Linked DNA regions of Homo sapiens: all the other regions are linked to region 2. The links are contacts of gene promoters, found by promoter capture Hi-C in human tissues and cell types (Jung and others, 2019). All regions are on one chromosome and are shown on one strand. Each heading gives the region's core, a stretch centred on a gene start or on the middle of the fragment in contact. The rest is flanking DNA. Distances are from core to core; before and after follow the strand shown.

Region 1 (3,132 bases), core at 226-2,725, 520 kb before region 2:
CTCAGTGTGACTCCCACTGTTGAAATGTAGAGAGCAGTCGTCTTGATTCTGCCTGTGTGGGGGACAGTTGTTACTTTTTAGTGTCCTTACAAGGTCTTTGCTTCATCGCTCTAGAAACACTAAAGCAACTCTCCTCTGCTAACGGCTGCAGAAATCATTAAGACATTTATTTGTTTACATTTGTTTAAACATCAAAAGATGGGCTAGGTTAATTTTTTTTCCAAAGAGAATAATTCCTGGATATAAAATAAATGTTTGGACAAGTGTATTAGTCCATTTTCATACTGCTGTAAAGATACTACCTGAGACTGGGTAATTTATAAACAAAAGAGTTTTAATTGACTTACAGTTCTGCAAGGCTGGAGAAGCCTCAGGAAACTTAGAATCATGCTGGAAGGCGAAGCAGAAGCAAGGCATGTCTTACATGGTGGCAGGATAGAGAGAGAACACAGGGGAAACTGCCACTTTTAAGTAACTCAGATCTCATGAGAACTCCCTCACTATCACGAGAACAGCATGGGGGAACCACCCCCATGATCCAATCACCTTCCACCAAGTCCCTCCCTCCATACGTGGGGATTACAATTCGAGATGAGATTTGGGTGGGGACACAGAGTCAGACCGTATCAATAGGTATATAACACAGTATTGTTAACTATAGTCAACATGCTGTACATTAGATCTCCAGAACTTACTCATCTTGCATGACTGGAACTTTGTACCTTGGGTACTTGACATTTGCTAAGAGACTAGATCTTAGGTGTTCTCACCACACACATAAATAAAAATGGTAACTCTGTGAGATGATGGATGTGTAAGTAGCTCAAGTGTTATTTCAGCATGTATACCTATATTAAAACTTCAAGTTGTTTACGTTAATATACATAATTACCCAAAATTGCACCTTTTTTTTTTTTTTGAAACGGAGTCTTGCTCTTGTTGCCCAGGCTGGAGTGCAGTGGCACGATCTCGGCTTGCTCCAACAACCTCCAGCTCCTGGGTTCAAGCAACTCTCCTGCCTCAGCCTCCCAAGTAGCTGGGATTACAGTTGCCCACTAATTTTTGTATTTTTGTACAATGCCCAGCTAATTTTTGTATTTTTAGTAGAGATGGGGTTTCGCCATGTTGGCCAGGCTGGTCTCGAACTCCTGACCTCGTGATCTGCCCGCCTCAGCCTCCCAAAGTGCTGGGATTACAGGCGTGAGCCACCGTGCCTGGTCTTTTATTGTTATTTTTTGAGACAGAGTCTTTCTGTCTCCCAGGCTGGAGTGCAGTGATGCAGCACTCTGCCTCTGCCTCCCAGGTTCAAGTGATTCCCCTGCCTCAGCCTCCCAAGTAGCTGGGATTACTGGTGTGTGTCACCATGCCTAGCTAATTTTTGTATTTTTAGTAGAGATGGAGTTTTACCATGTTGGCCAGGCTGGTCTCAAACTCCTGACCTCAGGTGATCTGCCTGCCTCAGCCTCCCGAAGTGCTGGGATCGCAGGTGTGAGCCACCGCACCCAGCCAAAAAATGCAATTTCTGAAAAAAAAAAAGTGGGCAAACTCTTTTGGGATTCATTATTAGAATCTGATTTGAGTGGCAGTTCTAAGATTTTGTAAACCGTACATTACCATTCTTATTGTTTTTTAATCCATTAAATATTTGTTTAGTATTTGTTATGAGCAATGTAAGGAAGGAATATAAAATACATATGAAATACTCCCTTAACTGTCATGTACTTTAAAACTTAGCTGGGAAGATAATACTGTTGCATGTCAAACAACTAGAAAATACAGCAATATTAACAATACCACTAATTTTAATAAGTTCTTTTTTTTTTTTTTTTTTTTTGAGAAGGAGTCTTACACTGTCACCCAGGCTAGAGTGCAGTGGCACAGTCTCGGTTCACTGCAACCTCCGCCTTCCAGGTTCAAGTGATTCTCATGCCTCAGCCTCCGGAGTAGCTGGAACTGCAGACGTCTGCCACCACACTGGGCTAATTTTTTTTTGTATTTTTAGTAGAGATGGGGTTTCACCATGTTGGCCAGGCTGGTCTCGAACTCCTTACCTCAAGTAATCTGCCTGCCTCAGCCTCGCAAAGTGCTGGGATTATGGGGTGAGCCACCACGCCCAGCCTGAATAAGTTCTTGCTAGATACTAGGCACTATTTTAAGCACTTTAGATGCATTCTATCACTTAATTACTAAAAACTGACTCTGAGGTTATTTCGTTATTAATATCCTTATCGTGGAATTTGATCAAGGACACAATCAGTGGCAGAGCCAAGTGTTAAGCCCAAATCTTTCTGACCATATAGCTTATATTTATTATCACTGTATTACAATCGTTACAGCATTTTGAAATTTTTTGTTTGTTTGTTTGTTTGAGATAAGGTCTTCCTCTGTCACCCAGGCTGGAGTCTAGTGGTGTGATCATGACTCACTTGCAGCCTCGACCTCCTGGACTCAAGCCATTCTCCTCTGCCTCTTGGGTAGCTGGGACCACAGGCACATGCAACCACGCCCGGCTAATTTTTGTATTTTTTGTAAGAGACGGGGTCTCGCCATGTTGCCTAGGGTGGTCTTGAACTCCTGGGCTCACACGATCCTCCTGCCTTGGCCTCCCAAAGTGCTGGGACTACAGATGTAAGCCACTGCACCCAGCCTGAACTGTTGTTTTTTAACTTTTGCATAAGAGTTCTAAATTGATGACTAAATTAAAATGCATACACTTTTGATTTTGGGGCTTACACCAGGGGTGTCCATTCTTTTGGCTTCCCTCAGCCACACTGGAAGGAAAAAAATTGTCTGGGGCCATACATAAAATATGCTAACCATAGCTGATGAGCTAAAAAAAAAAATCACCAAAAAAAAATCTCATAATGTTTTAAGAAAGTTAATGAATTTGCGCTGGGCCGCATTCAAAGCCATCCTGAGCTGCATGCAGCCTGCAAGCCACAGGTTGGACAAGGTTGGTTTACACCTTAAAATTTAGGGTAATCAACACTTTGTATTTTGATATTATTTCTATAGGCAAGAGTTATTTCTCAAATCCTTTAGCTTTTGTTTAGCTTGTTATATTCATGTAACACTCAGATGGACACATGGTGTTGTTCCATGTGATTTGGGTACATGAGCCGAATCATTTCT
Region 2 (2,703 bases), core at 98-2,597:
AAACAGGCTCTGCCATGGGGTCCCTGAATCTGACTTCTGAATGTCAAGAACTTTTTGAAATCTGATGCAGAATGTCGTGCTCACATGTGTTGGTGAATTCTTCTGCGAAAATGATTCACAGTTTGCTTCAGGGTCTGAAATGAGTTCACGACCCAAAATAGGAAGGGGATCGGTAGGGCAGTGTATATAGCACACCATTGACGTAACCATTAATAACTCCATCTTAGGAGAAGACCCCATTTTTACATTTCATAAGGCATTTGCCAACAAGCATACTATACTTTAATAAACAAATAAAAAAATAGTCCGCATCCAGCCAGGTAAGGACACAAACAAGCACTCTCTTCCATTACCAGTTCTCACCACAGGACTCTGTGACTATAAAAGATGGGGCCTTCGGCAGCTCCCAACAGCCGGCTTAATTGACGCCGTCTTTGCAGAAGGACCTCTCGGCCCAAACCAGGCTTCTTTTCCTCTTCTTCACTCCCTCTGGATTGGTTCGTTAATCTCTTTGCCCCATCTCTTTTTCCTCATGATGTTAAATGCTACTTTGTTGTGGGATGCTTAACTTGTAACATTTATATGTGGATTAAGTACACTACTATGATGCGTGAGCGGCTTGAGCCTGTGTGTCAGGCTCTGACTACCCAGTGACCAGCAAGTGCTGAGAACTGCCTCCTTGGGAACTCCACGCAGCTCGTGGCTTTTGTGATCGAAAGAGCGTCCACAGCAGCCTGACATGGTGGAAAACACAGCATGCGTGGACCTGGTTATTTCTAGCCTGGCACCCTGATGACAGGAGGTTAAGGCTTTTGATTTAGGGAGAGAGACCTGAGGGTAACCCAAAGAAAGGCCTCAGGTCATCGCAGAGGAGACAGAAATTACCGGTGGGCGTCCCGGCCTGCTCCTCTTCTTCCCAGAGCTCAAACTGGGCAGCAGGCCTGGCTTTGTCTCCCTTCTAGGTACCCGTTGGGCCTGGCGCGGTTTCCAAGTCTCCCTCAATTTCCCTCCAGAATCCCGCGCTGGGAGCGGAAGCCCGCGGACTCTCAGGAAGACCTAGATTTCAAATCCGGGGCGGGGGAGCCGGGCCGAGCCTCAGGGCGGGACCAAAGCGGGAGGACTGGCGCGGGACGCGAGGGCGGGACCAGGGCGTGAGGACGCGGGGCGCGGGGGCGGGGCGCGCTGCGGTGGGCGGGCGCCTCCTGGGGCCCAGCCTGGGGCTGGGTTCTCGGGCGGGCGGGAGCTAGGGGACGGGCCGCAGCGGAGGCGGCGCGAGGGGCCGACAGGGGCGGGCGGGAGGCGGGGCTGGCGCTGGAGCACATCTCCCGGCGGCGGGCCGCGGAAGCAGTGCAGACGCGGCTCCTAGCGGATGGGTGCTATTGTGAGGCGGTTGTAGAAGGTATGAGGAGGCTGTGCGGTGACTGCCGCCCTCGCTCCGGGCCGTCAGCCCTGCCCCCGCTCCCTGCGTTCTCCCAGGCCCTGCGCCCGCCCGGGTACCTGCCCGGTCTGGAAGGCGGAGTGTTTGTTTTGCCACCTCGCCCGGGCGGGGGCGAGCAGTGAAGCCCGCGGAGCGAGAGACTTGGCCCGGAGGCGGGAGCCTGGGCCGGGGCCGGGGAAGCCAGGCAGCGGGTTAAGGCTTTTGATTTAGGGAGAGGGACCTGGGGGTAACCTAAGGAAAGGCCTCAGGTCATCGGAGGGGAGACCTGGCCCGGGGGCGGGAGGCTGGGCTGGGACCGGGGAGGCCGGGCAGCGCGAGGCCGGGCCGGGGAGGCCAGGCAGCGGGAGGCCTGGCCAGGGGAACCGAGCCCGGGGCCGGGAGGTCGGGCACGGGGCACCGAGCTCCGAGGGCGGGAGACCTGGCGGCCGGCCGAGTGCCGGAAGGCCGGGTCAGGCGGCGGAAGGCAGCGGCAAGCTGGGAAACGGACGGCGCTACCGCCGGCGGAGGAGTGGCCCCGGGAAGCGGTGCTGCGAGGGCTGGGGCGGCCGGGTGCTGACTGTGAGATACTCGCCCTGGGGGCTGATCCTTCCAATTTTGGACGAGGCTTCCGTCTCTGCTGCCTTCCATGCCTGGGGCCTGGATTATCCCGGGTTGACAATGTGGTTTAGCTCTTCCAGAGAGATAGTTGCAGGGTTTAAACTCCAATTCCTTTTCGGCCCTGCAGAGTTTCGTGAGTGCTCGCAGCTCATACCTGTGGCTGTGTATCCGTGGCCACAGCTGGTTGGCGTCGCCTTGAAATCCCAGGCCGTGAGGAGTTAGCGAGCCCTGCTCACACTCGGCGCTCTGGTTTTCGGTGGGTGTGCCCTGCACCTGCCTCTTCCCCCATTCTCAGTAAGTGGCACCCAAGCAGGAAACCGGAAAACATCGTTCGCAGCCCCCTCTCGCCCACCCACTTCTTTTCCTGCTTAGTCGCCAAGCCTTGTCGACCTTGTAAATGTCTGCCAGATCTGTCCGCGTCTCTCTATCTCTGATTTCAGCCGTCTGACCACAGCAGCCTCTTCCCTGGTCTCTCCACTTCCAGACCCGCCTGCTCCTTTGCAGTCCACTTTTTACAGCACAGGCAGAGGGATCTTTATGAAATGAAAGTCTAGAAAGCTCGTCCTTTGCCCTTAGGTTAAACCCAGCACTTAATATGGCTAACAAACCCCTGCGTGTGTTGGGTCCTGAGTGCCCCCACCCCTCCTTATCTTTAGCACCGGTTCGAT
Region 3 (2,716 bases), core at 105-2,604, 740 kb after region 2:
GTGTTTCAGTATATCATCTATTTCTATCAATACTCACATTTTGAAAGGAGCCATATTTGTAAAGGAAATAGATGAAGATACACATCCTTCCCAACCCAACCCCCAAAAGAGTTGCACATGAGAAAGACTCCACCTACTCTCCCAATCTTCATTGTAGGTGTTTGTCATCATGTTTACCATTTCCTTCCATAGCAGCAACACCTGCTTCTTATTCCATGTATTAGCTAACAGTTAAAATAAAGAATAAATGATAAGCCTCCCTCCCTGGGCAAGAACCGTATTATATCCAACCCTATAACCCCATGAGAATCCAGCAAGGCACTTCGCTCTTTGGGGGCACGCCATAAAAATGCTGAATGAATGACAGCACTTTTCTTCCATCTTTTGGTCTTCAGGTTTCTCAGCAGTAACCTAACATTGAATCTGAACAGAAAACCGCCAACCTGAAACAGGTTATCCTTCATTATCACCATAGGACCATCTTACCATTTGTAGATCAAGAAATAAAATAAGGGAATCAAGTACAATTAAAAGCTTCTTCCTCAAGCCCTCAAAAACGCCTCGCAGCACCTGCAATAGCAGACAAGTTCTTTTGCAAAGAATGCAAATGTGATAATGAGGTAATGCCAAGATAGATTAAAAAAAAAAAAAAAAAAAACTGGCTGCCTGGAAATGTGCCTGAATCATGAAACAGAGTGTTGCAGGTTTGTCGATGAAATGATGGCCACCAACCCTCCTATAGCTTCACAGTTGGTGTCAGGACCGGTTCCTTAGGAGGCATAAGAAAGGGGAACTGTGAAGTGTGGAATGAAGACATTCAAACCCTAAGTACATGAAACCCAGGATTATCTGAACACTTAGTGCAGCAATGGGTTTATGTACATATGTGTTTTGAGGTTAGGTTTGCATTTAGGTGTGTTTCAAAATTTACTGCCACAAGTCTGAAGAGTGTAGCAACCACAGCAGCGACTTAAATGACTGAAGTATAAACTGTAGTTGTCACTTTCTTTACGAATTTGGCTTTTCATGAAAGGGAAAATCAAGGGAGCCTTATTGCCAAAATAGTACAACATCCTTATGTCGCCTGACTTTGCAATAAAAAAGATGGTTCTTTTATTTCGGCTTTATGTTCGTGGAAATGCGGTCGCAAGGCATTTTTGAAGCATGAGATGCTGACCCCAGTTAAAAAGGACTTGCTGTTTTAGGAGAAAAAGAGTAAAGCTAGACTGTAAGTACCAACCACAAGCTTAAAATGATCTTCCCAGTTAAGACAGGGCTCAGAGTGATTTGGTACAGTATGTGGTTTAAAATAAAATCTCGGTTCTTCCATTACAGTGTGCTTAGAAGAAAATCTAAATTTTTCTCTGAATGAAAAATAAATAAGAACCGATGCCTTACACATCATTACATCCAAGTGGTTAAGGAGAAGTAAGGAGAAGGCAACGGAAGGTTTCCAGGCTTTTCCTCCTTCAGCATTTCCCTCAAGAATTTCATCCCTGGGTTCCCAAATCAAACCAAAGCCATTCCGTTGTATTTCCAAAAAAAGAACTGGCTCCTTCAGGAAGGCTTTTCACAGCACTGCATTTTAAGCGGAAATCTTTTTTGAAGCCTTCCCTTTCCATTTACCGTTTTGTTTGTCCCTCCTGTCTGACATGCAAACACATGATACAGCCTCCATTCTTTCCATACAGCCTAATTCAAAGCAACATATGTTAAATCCACACAGAATCATGTGAGCATTCAATCCGCATCCACACCATTACCCCCACAGAACGCGTTCAGTAAGCTCCAACACAGTTCTCTGCGTGCAAATCAGACCAGCCTGGGATGTCTGCAGGACTCTCCCCTGACTCAGCCCATCCAGAGCTGCGCATGGAACCTGTTCCTTTTGGAGAACAGGGGGCTGCTGGAAATACCCACTCAGATAACCGGCCACAATGCAGCAGCCAGCAAGCCTGGCACTGCAGGCAACCCTGGGCGCAGGATCCTCCACAAAGCTCGAGGAGGCTGCAGCGCCGGGGCTTGCAGTCATTTATCTCCCTGCAGCCAAAACGCCCGGCTCGTCCCCCCTCCCTCGTTTTACCTAACTAATAGCTCTCCAACCCCATATTGAGAGGGCCTGCTGTGGATCTTGGGAGGTACAAAATGGTGGATGGGAGCTAATTTTTTCCTGCTTTCCCCATAACTTATCGCATCCATCACTGCCCGTCCTCTCCTCCAAGCACCCGGGCCGCGGCGTACCGAGCACGTCCCGCGGCCCCGGCCCGGGGGCAGAAACGCGGTCACCAACCAACCTGATGTCATGTAGCCCCGCGAAGCCTGGGGCGCGAAGGCCGCGGGGAAACGCTTGTGCAGGCGGTAGTCCTTCTCGCTGCGGGACCTCATGCGGTCCGAGGCCCGGTCCGAGAAATCCGAGCTAGGCCAGGCTCGCCGCAAGGTTGTGCTCCGGGTCTTCTTCATGGTGGGGAGGGCGACCTGCCGCCCCGATCCTCGGGGCCTCAGCGCCGGGGCGCAGCGCGCTCCTTCATCCGTCTACGGCGGGCACGACCCGGGCGGACTCTGCGCACATTTTCCCAGCCCCTCCTCGTCGGCGTCTACACCGCCAGCGGCGGGTCCGGCCCTCCCCACGCCCCCCCACACCCCCACGGCGAAGGCTCCGATTTTACACACGTCCCACAATGCATTACACTTCATTTGCAATCCGCCCGGCTTATAG
Region 4 (2,844 bases), core at 325-2,824, 770 kb after region 2:
ATCTGACATTGCCAGGGACAGAAGAGATCATGGAGATGCGGCTCACTTAACTTACGGCTACACAAGCCTACCTGATGTTAGGGCCCATGAGAAGAGAAAGTCACTCACTGTATCCCAGCGCCCAGCCGCATTGTGAACTCGTGCGATGCACAAACACCCGAGAAACTATTCATTGCCGGAGCTCTGTGGTTTCCTCCAGAGTGAGGCCAGCATAGAGCCACCGTGTGCTTCTGTTTTTGCTCCGTGAGGACACTGCACAAATATGTCCATGCTTGATGTATGGGCCGAGAGCAGAAAGGCGTACAAGGGATGTGTGTAGGGCTCATGGAGGTGAAGAAGGATGAGATGGTGAGAGAGAGGGTGGCAGTGAGCCCGGGGACATGCCTTCGCGAGGCTGGCCTGAGGCTGCCTGGGGTCTCTACACATAATTCTCACCAACTCCTTCACCCCATACACACGTCTAATCTTCAAACACTAAAATAATAACAAACACAGATAATTTGGGAGAGATTTATGGCTCTTGATCTTTTACAGAAACAGGCTGTGGGCACATGAAATTGATCTGTAAGTGCCAAGTCCTTTCATTACTGTGGCTGTTCTTTTTTAATAACAGACACCATTGTGCAGATTTCAAAATAGTTTAGACCTAAAAAAAAAAAAAAACTATCCATGAGTAAAGAACAATTCTAGAGAGCAGAGCTTTCACTGTAAATCTTTAGGGAAAAGAAAAAGAAAACAAAATAGAAAAACTCAGCTCACCCCTTACGGGCCATCCTTTGTGCTCCTAATCTCAATACAAAGGTTAGGATTAAAAGCATTGGCATTAAAATAGCCTGCAGTTTCTGCTTTGAAGTCTAATGATGACAATAGCTAAAATCTTTGACAACTTTTGAGAAGGCAGAGTCCTTCAAAGTCCTTTGAAATGTTAAATACTAAATTGAAGAGGTCGTTATACAGAAAATTTTTTCATTAAAGGTGCACAATGAACATGCTTTTTAGATTCACACTCATTTGGTTTTCTTTCAACACCAAGATTGCATGTATGTTCTCAATTTGCTATTGTCTGTAATTCTAATTCCAAATCAAAATCAGGACCCAACTTGCTGGATTAAACCCAGAAAACGACTGTTAAAACAGAATAATTGGTCCTTATGAAGTGACAAATATTTCTTATTTTGTAGCTGCTTTTCCGTGGCCAAAACCACCAATGAAAGCTTAAGTAATAGCTGTTTCAAAAAACACCAAAAAACAAAACATAATGAATAAACTTGGAGCAGCATTACAAGGCCTGCATTTTAGTTTTTCTTATTCCTGGGAATTCTACAAATGGCACCTTTACCAGGCAGGTTCACTGAATCTAAAAATGTCTCCAGCAAGGGCAGGCCATGGCAGAGTTGTATAAATGAAGCTTGCACTGGACAAGCTCTTCTTAGATCTCCTGGGTGCAAATCACAGCTCTTTCCTCTCCTAGCAAGCAAGTGGCCTTGGATGGTTCCTCAAGCTTTCTGCAACTCAGTTTCCAGGTCTAAAAACTTCAAGTGATAATTCTTACCTCAAGATACTGTTGTCAGGGCTTAATAGGATAAATTATGTGAAAGTGTGGCATAAGCCAGGTACTGTGGCTCACACCTGTAATCCCAGCACTTTGGGAGGCCGAGGAAGGCAGATTACTTGGGGTCAAGAGTTCAAGACCAGCCTGGCCAACAGGGTGAGACCCCGTCTCTACTAAAAGTAAAAAGAAAAAAAAAATTAGTCAGGTGTGGTGGCAGGCACCTGTAGTCCCAGCTACTTGGGAGGCTGAGGCACGAGAATCACTTGAGCTCAGGAGGTAGAGGTTGCAGTAAGCCAAGATCGCCCCACTGTACTCCAGCCTGGGAGACAGAGCGAGATTCCTTCTCAAAAACACAGCAGCAGCAGCAGCAGCAGCGGAAGTGCGGCATGAGGCAGGTGCTTAAAATTCTTAATAAAGTTAATAACGCTTTATCCTCAACCAGAAACTCAAAGCTTCCATGCGTCCCACTCCACTGTGCAGAGCACGCATACAGAGCATGCAAAACGGCTCTGCAACAAAGTTACAGACCCTATTTTCTCCCTTGGTCAAAAGTAATCTCTATATGCTCTGATCCATTGATTCTTTTGGTCAGTGAATTAACCTGAAAACCAGATTCATGCTAACATACTGGCTGGTGTTCATGTTTCCCCTACTCCAAAACATTTTAGCATCATCTTTCTGGAAATGTTTGGGATCTGGTTAAAATGCAGATCCTGTAGGTCTGTGTGCGGACCCGAGATTCTTCATTTCTCTTGAGCTCAAAGGAGATGCTGACGTGCTGGTCCCCAGACCATACGCTTTGAGTAGCAGGACTTTAGTTCAGGGGATAGCAAGAATCAGAGACTCACAGAACTTAGAGCTAAAAGAGATTGTTTTTATCCCAAAGATGGAAGACTCAGCAAATTCTGCCCACATATAATTTTTTTAGTTTTGGTCCTCATCATATTTTTTGAAATTGGGTAAGTTTTACAGATTTATAGCATTAAAAAAACCCAAAAAACACAGTCTCATAGTATGGGCCTTTTTTCCTGAAGCCGAGTGGTGGCCCTATAGAGGGGCCACACATTCTCCAAGACCCTCCCCAACACAAAGACTGAACGGCACGGCCATGTTCCAGGATGCAGGAACTACTGTCAACCGTTCTCAGTCTAGAAAACGCTTCTCCATTCGCACTCACAATGGAACTCACAGGGCTTTGTGCACGTTTCAAGAAACGTCAGAATAGAATGCCCGCTTGGCCCACTTCACTGGTTTACATGACCTTCCTGGCAACCCCACTCGCTCTGCAGACA

Evidence for each region. The method cuts DNA at HindIII sites, captures the fragments that hold promoters and counts their contacts. A contact is called where the count stands out against the background at its distance.
Region 1: a fragment that was not itself captured here is called in contact with the fragment with the promoter of CASP3 in region 2 in 1 of the 25 tissues and cell types used here (dorsolateral prefrontal cortex).
Region 3: a fragment that was not itself captured here is called in contact with the fragment with the promoter of CASP3 in region 2 in 2 of the 25 tissues and cell types used here (hippocampus and mesenchymal stem cells).
Region 4: a fragment that was not itself captured here is called in contact with the fragment with the promoter of CASP3 in region 2 in 1 of the 25 tissues and cell types used here (hippocampus).

The regions. Positions count from the first base shown.
Region 1 is chr4:185,166,701-185,169,832 of GRCh38, reverse strand. All of the region lies in intron 3 of CFAP97 (cilia and flagella associated protein 97), which reads left to right. Among named protein-coding and RNA genes, the nearest start is that of SLC25A4, 25 kb to the right of the region's middle. The HindIII fragment of the contact is 8,838 bases long and covers 1-3,132 here.
Region 2 is chr4:184,648,091-184,650,793 of GRCh38, reverse strand. CASP3 (caspase 3) reads left to right here and starts at 1,347. Exons shown (of 8, transcript NM_004346.4): 1 at 1,347-1,399; 2 at 2,163-2,329. PRIMPOL (primase and DNA directed polymerase) reads right to left here and starts at 1,056. Exons shown (of 14, transcript NM_152683.4): 1 at 886-1,056. RefSeq lists silencers at 1,040-1,619, 1,630-1,839. The HindIII fragment of the contact is 11,001 bases long and covers 1-2,703 here.
Region 3 is chr4:183,906,535-183,909,250 of GRCh38, reverse strand. STOX2 (storkhead box 2) reads right to left here. Exons shown (of 4, transcript NM_020225.3): 1 at 2,295-2,716. The coding sequence starts at 2,460. Among named protein-coding and RNA genes, the nearest start is that of STOX2, 2.6 kb to the right of the region's middle. The HindIII fragment of the contact is 3,568 bases long and covers 1-2,716 here.
Region 4 is chr4:183,876,753-183,879,596 of GRCh38, reverse strand. It overlaps a transcript of STOX2 not described here. Among named protein-coding and RNA genes, the nearest start is that of STOX2, 27 kb to the left of the region's middle. RefSeq lists an enhancer at 474-1,226. The HindIII fragment of the contact is 4,877 bases long and covers 1-2,844 here.